Regions from separate parts of the Homo sapiens genome. Here region 2 is linked to region 1. The links are contacts of gene promoters, found by promoter capture Hi-C in human tissues and cell types (Jung and others, 2019). All regions are on one chromosome and are shown on one strand. Each heading gives the region's core, a stretch centred on a gene start or on the middle of the fragment in contact. The rest is flanking DNA. Distances are from core to core; before and after follow the strand shown.

What was found. Contacts are between HindIII fragments. The study calls those that stand out against the background at their distance.
Region 2: the fragment with the promoter of ESPNL here is called in contact with a fragment that was not itself captured in region 1 in 1 of the 25 tissues and cell types used here (H1 embryonic stem cells).

Annotation. Positions count from the first base shown.
Region 1 is chr2:237,696,001-237,700,866 of GRCh38, forward strand. All of the region lies in intron 1 of LRRFIP1 (LRR binding FLII interacting protein 1), which reads left to right. Among named protein-coding and RNA genes, the nearest start is that of LRRFIP1, 71 kb to the left of the region's middle. RefSeq lists enhancers at 1,084-1,293, 4,400-4,449, 4,460-4,509 and a silencer at 2,357-2,406. The HindIII fragment of the contact is 4,703 bases long and covers 1-3,609 here.
Region 2 is chr2:238,098,224-238,102,878 of GRCh38, forward strand. ESPNL (espin like) reads left to right here and starts at 2,117. Exons shown (of 9, transcript NM_194312.4): 1 at 2,117-2,490; 2 at 3,718-3,908. The coding sequence starts at 2,197. It overlaps SCLY (selenocysteine lyase), which reads left to right. Exons shown (of 12, transcript NM_016510.7): 12 at 1-1,190. The coding sequence ends at 132. UBE2F-SCLY (UBE2F-SCLY readthrough (NMD candidate)) reads left to right here. Exons shown (of 19, transcript NR_037904.1): 19 at 1-1,190. RefSeq lists enhancers at 1-630, 265-559, 4,325-4,494. The HindIII fragment of the contact is 18,069 bases long and covers 1-4,655 here.

The sequences.
Region 1 (4,866 bases), core at 8-2,507:
AGAAATTATATGTATTCCGAGACTCATTCATTCATTTTGGAAAGGGCCAGTGTTTCCAGTGGTTTCTCCTTGGGATTGTAACTTTACAACTTTAAAACTAGGTAAGTAGTTTTCCCTTGAATCTAAAGTATAACTACTTTGTAGTAGAGAAGTAATTTATCTTAAATCACTATAATGAAGATTTACTCTTAATTTTAACCAAAATGTTTCATTTATTTGTGTAATGAAGATGATCAAAGCAACGCCACCTGTGATCCTTCTGTCTTTTTTACTGTATGTGGCACGTGGCTGTGTGATTTTCCTAGGGAAAGGAGTGGGCTTTCCCTGTGGGTTGAGAACCTCTGTCCCCCTCCTCTGAAGTTTCCCCAGTTTTTCCTGCTTCTCTGCTAGGTGGGTGCCTTAGCATGCTTGTCTTCTCATCGTGCTTCTAAACTTCTCTGAACCGGATTTATACTCTTAGGTCAGTAGCTGTCAAAGAAGACACTAAGTAGTGAAAGTAGCTAATATTTACCAAACCCCTGCTGCGCCCACCTGGTGTTTTATGTGAAGGTCTTCTCTAACCCTTGCTGTAACCTCATGGGGAGCAGATCGTTTTCTCTCAGTTTTTCAGATAAAGAGGAAACTGAGGCTCAGAAAGGTCAGGGACTTTCCAAGCCCTCACAGCTAGTCAGCAGTGGAGCCAGTTCAGACCCAGGCCTGCTGACTCGGAACTGGTACTGATAACTGTCACCACTGTATGCAATGCTGCAGGCAGGGGCTGGCAGGTAGTAAATGTGCAAGATATAGCTGTGGCTGCCACGGCTGCTGCTGCTGCTTTTGTCGCTGTTGTCAGCTTTTCTTGGCAGCCCTGCTGTCTCATACCCCAGTATTGGGGCTGAAGGATTTCTTTTTACCAAAGCTGCCTCTTAGGACAGAAGTCCTTGTCTTGAATGCATACTGGGAAGTCTTCACTCTGTCAAACTTTTCTGTTCTCTGCCTGGTAATTTCCAGACAGAAGAGAACATTCAAAGAACGAACTTACTTTCCTTCTTTTTTTTTATTGAGACAGTCGTGCTTGATTGCCCAGGCTGGAATGCAATGGCACAATCTCAGCTCACTGCAACCTCCGTTTCCCAGGTGCAACCGATTCTCCTGCCTCAGACCTCTGAAGCAGCTGGGACTACAGGTGCCTGCCACCTCACCCGGCTAATTTTTGTATTTTTAGTAGAGATGGGGTTTCACCACATTGGCCGGGGTGGTCTCAAACTCCTGACCTCAAGTGATCCTCCCATCTCGGCCTCCCAAAGTGCTGGGATTACAGGCATGAGCCACCACACCCGGCCCAATGAGCTTTACTTTTCTACATAAGGAAAATAATGGTAGAAATGAAATAGCTGTGAAACTTGTTTTGCTATTTTTGTACCATGCTAAAATGTTAACTACTGCTTATGTCGGCATACACCTGAGAGCTGCTGTGATTTAAGCCTTTTTATTTTTCTGGGTATGATGTAACTCCTCCCCTACCTCATCCAAGTAGATAAGTTCATGGAGGATAAACATGACAGCTGCTGTTTCTTTTATAGCTGGTTCCAGGGAATATCCACTGAATATAGGAAAGATTGTCAGTTGCTGTGTGCTGCCCTGGTGCTGGTGGAGCTTTCAGCCTTCTTCTCAGAGGAAACAATTTAAATGTTTTTGTGAAACCCTAGAGGTCTGGGGTTTGTAGGACAGTCTTGAGCAGAGCAGGCAAAGGTGAAGGGAGTGGAGCCCAGACGTGCTGCCTGGAGGGAAACCTGTCACCTGGAGAGGAAACGGCACAGGGGAGGCCCAGCCGCCCTCGCCTCTCAGTCCCGCACGTCTCTGTTAGTGGTAGTCATGGTTCTTGTATTTCCATCATGTTGAGGCAATTGAAGGAAATATGAAGATTCATTCATCTCAGGAAAAGCAAGAAATGTATTAACAGCAAGAGTAGAAGTTCACTTGCATGGAAGATACTGTATAGCGTATTTATTTCTTAGCGCCAGTGGGAGTAGCTGCTAAGCCCAAGATTGTGTTGTGAGGTTTGAATAGGTCAATGTGTGAGTCATCAATAAAGTAACATCAATCATTTTGTTCCCGATTAATACGTTTGCTATTTTAGGATGCGAAGGACTTTAAAGAAGCTTATTATTCTGAAAAGCAAAGCCTGGAGATTTCCAGTAGCAAAACAGACACAGTCTGTGGACAATCTCAGTGTACAAATAATTCACCTCTGGCATGAACCCAAAGAATTTCAGAGGGGAAGGAAGCTCTTAAAGATTACGTCCCCTCCTACTTCTTTAATGAGGGCTGGGGTTCAAAAACCGAGTAACTTATCCAGGCTCACATAACTGTAGGTGACAGAGCCCAAGCTGGAGGCTGTGGCTGGGTCTTCAGACTCCTTTCTTGACAGTCTGCACCTGCATAAACTCAGACCTTTACTGAGAACAGTGCAGCCATAGCTGAGAGAAGCAGTCGGCACCCAGCATTTCTTGGACTTGTCTGCCAGGTCCCCCGAGTGCAGAGGACAGTGTGCTGGCTCCTGGGGCCTGTGGGCCCGGCCAGGAGCAGCCTTGTAAGCTAAAGCCTTCTTTGAAGGTGGCCGTCTTACCGTAAACTTTCATGGTAATTTCAGTCTACTCCATAATTTGTCTGAGTTAATTTTGATGGAAACATAGTGTTTTAAGTAATCAGTTAGGCTTTGATCTCTAACTTTATGCCATCCAAATCTTCATGATGGCCTGAGCACCAGGCACCCAGACCTGTGCTCTGAATTGTGCCGGGGCTGGTTCATACAGTGTGATGGAGAGACGAGAGATCCACACTGGAGTTCTGAAGCTGTGGTTCTCAACCCTGTCTTTTTACAAGTTCCTTAACTTCCTTACTAGCCTGAAATGAAATGCATAGGTGAGAAAGTCAACCAGCGCACATAATTTCGAGTCAATATAACATTTCCTTAAAAAATAAAATACAGGTAGTTTATAGTAACATAATAAGAATTTTGATATAGAAATACTCAAGACCAAGTACACCAGCAGTTGAATGCAGTGATGAGACCTGCACACACCTGTGCCTGGCGTCACAGGGAGGCTGACACAGGTGTGTTGCACTGAGACCCACACACCACCCCTCATGTTGCTGTCTATGACGTGACATTCTACAAAGTTGACTAACTCTCAGGAAAGTTCTGAACAAAGCCAAGTATCATCATCTTCCTTCAATTTCCATGTCGATTGCATTCCTGGAATAGTTCATGTATATTTGAACTGTGTAAAACATATTTTGAGTTTATATGTAAGTTGCAATCAGTTTGTAAATCCAAAAATTAAAAATAGTGGTTTTTCTTTTCTTTTTTTTTTTTTTCTTTTTTTTTGAGATGGAATTTCGCTCTGTCGCCCAGGCTGGAGTGCAATGGTGAGATCTCGGCTCACTACAACCTCCGCCTCCCGGGTTCAAGTGATTCTCCTGCCTCAGCCTCCTGAGTAGCTGGGATTATAGGCATGCGCCACCATGCCCGGCTAATTTTGTATTTTTAGTAGAGATGGGATTTCACTATGTTGGTCAGACTGGTCTTGAACTCCTGACCTCAGATGATCCGCCTGCCTCGGCCTCCCAAAGTGCTGGGATTACAGGCGTGAGCCACCGCACCCGGCCAAAACAGTGGTTTTTCTATCTTCCTGAGCAGTCAAGGGAAAAGTTCTTCCCATCGCAGGCGTGTCTGAATGCGGGATGGTTGGCCGACCTGGCCCTGCCCCCCCGCCCCAATACCCTTAGCTTCTTCCCAATCTTTTTGACATCCCAGTCCCCCCAACATTTCCAAAATGCCCTCTAAGTCAACACTTCCGCCACTGCCAGCTGCCACCCCAGAGTGCCCTGTGCCTGGTAACGATCGTTCTCACAGTCATGGCCGTAGGGAAGGCTCTTTGTGGTTCCTGGGGGACTTCGTGAGATTGCCCACATGAGCATTTCTTTTGGAACTGAGATACAGTGCACATCGCCTCTGGGGGACATGGGGTGGTGGGTACACGGAACCGAGGTGAGCCTCCCTTGCGTTGCGGAGGTGCTAGCCTTGTGCCGTCCGTTCTTGTCCACGTCTGTGCAGGAGAACATCACCCGGCCCACTTGGTTGCTGTGAATAGCAAACTTTAGAGGCCACTGCATCTGAGGGTTGGGGGGTTTGCAGAGAAAACAAAAGTTGGTGGCTGTGGCTACTTCCTATAGCAAAGTGGCTCAGGAAAGGGATCCCGTGTCACAGCCTGGGTACACCACGGCCCCTCCAGGAGCTTGATTCCTTCTTAGCTCAGGGGAAGAATCGCACAAGGACCGAGGCCCCTGCTTGTCTGTGAACAAACTGGCCTTTGTGGCCACTTCAGGCTTCGGCTGCATCATATTCCTGTCACATTCACGTGAGTGAACTTGAATTACATCCTTAACACTTTTCCAAAAAGGTTATAAACTAGACTGGTGATGTATCATGGGGCCTAGAAAAATAATGCTGCTGCTTTTTCACTTCTCTGCTTGACGCTAAAACCTGGAGGCGAAAATGAATGTGTGTAATTAATAGGAGAACTTCCTCCTGTTTGCAGAGTGCTTTACAGCTGGCAAACGGCTTCTCTCCCTGAACAGCCCCGTGGGGCGTCATTTCCATCTGACATCTGAGGAGAGCTGCTGTTCATGGTCCAGTCCTCTGTCCATTGGCCCACTGGGTGTCCCTAATATGCGCTAACAGGCTCCTGGCAAACGGCGGGCATGGCAGCCACGAATCTGCACATGAGCTGTATGCCCTGGGTCTCCCCTGGGCTCTGCGGGGGGAGGTGGGAGCCGCCTCTGGTTCACATGCGGTGCTTTCCAGGCTGCAGGGCCTTCTCA
Region 2 (4,655 bases), core at 867-3,366, 400 kb after region 1:
TACGGTGTCCCCTTCGACGTGGCCAGGAACGCGCTCCGGCTCAGCGTGGGCCGCAGCACCACCAGGGCCGAGGTGGACCTCGTCGTGCAGGACCTGAAGCAGGCCGTGGCGCAGCTGGAGGACCAGGCCTAGCACTGGGGCCGCCTTCCCCACCCCGCTTCTGGGAAGCCCGTGGCAGGGCACAGGGTTGTCCCTCCAGTTCCCTCCTGAGGGCTGTGCCAGGATGACTGTCTCATGCCCCCTCTGCATTTTGTCCTGGAGTGCCAGCGAGTGTGCACCCCCAGTTTCCTTCCCTGGACCCCTGCAGAGCTCACAGGGCCCAGGACACCAACGCCGCATAGGACTGCCCACATGGGACCGCCCACATAGGACCGCCCACATAGGACCGCCCACATGGGACCGCCCACATGGGACCGCCCACATGGGACCGCCCACATAGAACCGTCCTCCAGTGGTGAAGCGGAAACACTTAGCTTTATCCACCCTCCCCACTGGGAACTGGGCACGCCTGTTGTGAGTGCCCTTTCCTGGAAGGTGTTTTTATCTGGAAGATAGAATCCAAGTATTTATAACTCATTGTCAGCCAAATGCTATCATGAACGTAGGAAACTTGATTTTTTTGTTTTGATCATGGCCTCTACATGCACCTTTCCAGAGTGGTCTCTTCTCAGGCCCTTTTTAGTCCCTTTCCAAAGCTGCCCCCACCACCCTGCTCCTCTGGCCTCAGTGCACAGTGGCCCCCAGCCTCGGCCAGGCCTGCTCTGCTCAGCGCCCACCGCCCACCACCCCTCCTGCTTCCCCGAGCCTGACCCTGTTCCGCCCACTGGCAATCAGGGCTGCGCACTTCCCTGTCCACGGTCCCCAGGCCTTCCTGTCTTGTCCCTTTTGATCATTATTAACTCAGGGTTTCAGCTCCAACCTCGCTGAGTTGGTGCAGCTCCAGGTCATTCCTGGGGTGGGAATCGGATCATCCCTGACTCAGCTTTTACCTTAATTTTATTTGCAGAGGATTCTTTTCTCAAAATGCTCTGGCATTTGGACACACATCACATGTCGATATTTGCATAGGAGTCATTTTCAGTGGAATAACATTTTTAATGTGTGGTTTTACGGTTCAAGGAACTACTTGATGATTTTGAGGAAACACTTGCCAGAAACTAAATTAACGAATAAAAGATTTCAGTGCCCGACTTGGGGATCCTGTGGTTTCTCTAGTGGGCACTGCGCTTGGGCACAAAGTCATCTGACAGAGCCTGTCGGGGGGAAGCCAGGGGTGCAGCAGCCCCCAGGTCACCATTGTGTGATGATGCGTTAGCCCAGAAATCCAGCTTGAGGCTGTGTCTCCGGAAGCCCCTACAAATGTAATGGGTCCCCCATCTGCAGCTTCCCATTGCTGCCAGGAAGAGGCTGTGGTGGTCCTGACTTCCCTAAAGAAGAACTATGGATTGTCCAGAACAATCTGGAAAGGGGTTAAATGTACTTGGGCCCTTGGGGCTGCAGCCCAGAGACTTGGTCCGTGTAGTTGGAGAGGGGGCCGAGGCAGGGGCTGACACCTTCTCGCCTCAGAGGCCTGGACACACCCAAGTCAGGGTCCTGAGCCCATTGCAGGCCCCGTGGAGCCACTGTGTCCCCAGAGATTCCTAGGAGCCTCCAGGGCCGAGGGCCGGGACCCAGAGGCGGGGCGCTCAGCTCTGTGGGTGTCAACACAGCCAAACATGTAGACCTACTGGGCACCCTTTACTTCAGACACACTGTGGTGGCGGCTGGGGGTCTGCCCTTCTGTGAGAGTTGGGGGAACTGTCTCCCAGGCCACTCGGGGCTCCTGTGAGAAGCTCAGTGGCGTGTATCCTCAGCCCTCGCTCCACAGATGAAGTTCCTGCCATCTGGACAGATCTGAGCAGCCTCAGGGCCAGCCTCCTTTCTCTGCTGGCCATACCCAGCCCTGACCTAGCCTGGTGTGGGCCTTTCCCTGTGCCCTGTACTCCATCCTCCCAGCTCCAGGCACCTGGCACCCTCACACTGTGGGAGTGGCTTGGGCAGGTCCTCAAGGCCTGTCCCCCCACCCGACCCCACCCCACCGCCTCCCATCTGCCCTGTGGCAGCTTATCGGGTAACCAGAGCCGGCAGCTTCATCCACGTCTGAAACAGGAAGCCCCAGCCTGTGCATGAGTCGCCACTGAGAGCCCGGGCCAGAGGATGGAGAAGCAGCGGGCACTCGTGGCCGCCAAGGATGGGGATGTGGCGACGTTGGAGCGGCTGCTGGAGGCTGGCGCCCTGGGCCCGGGCATCACCGATGCTCTGGGGGCCGGCCTGGTTCACCACGCCACCCGGGCTGGCCACCTGGACTGCGTCAAGTTCTTGGTGCAGCGGGCCCAGCTGCCCGGCAACCAGCGGGCCCACAACGGGGCCACCCCAGCGCATGACGCCGCTGCCACGGGCAGCCTGGCCGAGCTGTGCTGGCTGGTCCGCGAGGGGGGCTGCGGTCTGCAGGTGAGCGGGGATGGGGCAGCCTGGCTCCACGAAGCTGGCTGGGGTGGAACCAGGGAGGTGTGAGCCACGGAGGATCAGAGTACTGGCCACCCCGGGCTCCATGGCCCTGGGCCCTTTGTTTCTCTTGGGGACTCAGTCAGTGGTTACCGTCTCTGCCCCACGCCTCTCAGAGCACAAAGGCTTGAGAGCCAAGAACACCTCCTAAATTTTCTTATCACCTTCCCTGCCAGGAAGCTGGGCGTTGCCAGTGGGGGTCTTGCCAGATATCAGGACCCCTGTCTCTGATCAGGCCTGGTCCACAGGGCCTGCCTCCCAAAGGGTCTAGAAAGGGATCCTTACAGAAGCACTGTGGGAACTTGGGCTTGAGAGCTGGGAGCCTAGCCCTGGGGGACGGGAGTTAGGGCTGCTGATGGTGATCGTCTTGTCCGGATCGTTTCTACTGGGCCCCCCTCCCCTATCCTGCCTGCCCAGTCCCCTTTGTGCAGGCGAGGCCCTTAGAGCTGTCGCTCAGCCCTGTGGAGCTTTCAGGGCTGAGGGTGAGCAGGACTGACCGGCCTTAGAACGCCGCCGCCCAGAGGTCAGAGTTGAGGTGGGGGCCGGTGGGGCCTGCTTAGACTGCGGAGCGGGAAGGTTCCCCAGCACCTGGCTCGCCAGAGCACCTGAGAGTCCCGGCCCAGCATCCTGTTCCTGTCGGCCCTTCCGCCAAACCCAAGGGCAGCAGGCGGGAGCTGTGCCTGCCTGGGGATCCATTCTGACAGGGCCCTTGGAGAAGGCCCAGGTCTGCTGGACCCCTGACACCTGTGGTAGGAACGCTCCCTGGCCCCGGGACCCTGTGGCCAGCGGGAGGGCACTGGGGCAGGGGACCAGCCAGAGGTAGGTGTCCTGGGAAGCCTTTCTGACCATGAGCAGAGTGGGCAGGTGTCTGCGGGCACCCGACTGCGTGGGAAAGGGCCTTCTCCACACTGGGGACGGGCCCAGGAGAGGGCAGGGTTGCCAGAGGTGGCCTCCCAAGACCTGGACCTGAGTCCTGGCCCTCCTCTCACCTCAGTCCCAGCAGGGAGCACCTCCCTCCATGTTGCAGGCAGAAACGGAGGGAAGGAGGAAGGAGCTGGAAGCCCCTTCACTGGGTTGCAGGCAGTGTGAGCCCTCGCCCAGGGCCCACCTCCGGCAGCTGGCTCTGACCTCACGGCCTACCCCCCACTCACTGACCTACCCGGGGCTTGGTAGGACCAAGATGCCTCGGGCGTCTCCCCGCTGCACCTGGCCGCCCGTTTTGGACACCCAGTGCTGGTGGAGTGGCTGCTCCACGAGGGCCACTCGGCCACGCTAGAGACCCGGGAGGGAGCCCGGCCGCTGCACCACGCTGCCGTCAGTGGGGACCTGACCTGCCTCAAGCTCCTGACAGCCGCGCATGGCAGGTAAGGAGCCCAAAGTCCCGCCTGGGGGGGCAGCCTGGGGCGAGCTGGCCAAGGGGAGGCTGCACCATGGAGGGCCAAGAGGACAGGCTGGTGGCCTTTGAGGTGAATCCTGCAGGCGGGCATGCTGTCACTGTGGGGGTGAGCTGGCAGGAGCCAAGGGCAATGAGGCCTCTACCCACAGGCCAGGCAGTGGCAGTGCCATGCCAGGGCCCAAGGGGACACAGGCCAGTGCTTCAGCTTGGAGAGTGGCTGGGGGCGGTGACGATGGCAAGATGCTGCTGTGATGCCCAGGGCAGCTCTGGCCCCACCTGGGGGCATCTCGGGACCTAAAACAGCTGGGGACGTGGGCAGCTGGCAACCTGTGAGGGCACCCTCCCATCACCTGACAGGAGTGGGGACTGTCTAGTGGACTTGGGGACACAGAGGCTGGAGCTGCCTCTGCACTGCCCCACCCCTGTGCTGGGACCCCTAGAGCCGGGCGCTGGCCTCATCGTCTCTGGGGCCCTGTGCCCCCTGCTGGAATTAGTGGATGGGCAACGAGGAAGGACCAGGGTCAGGACAGCCAGTAAGGCAGATGGCCTCCCTCCCCACCTGGAAGCTCCTCCAGTCCTCGCCCTGCTTACAAAGGTCACTGTTGTCATAGGAACAGGCCCTCTGCCTCCTACTGTCTTGGCTGAGGGCGAACCTTCCTGTCCCCCAGGGACCCACCTACCTCTGACCACGGCTCTTCTCTTTTCGAGGCAGCAT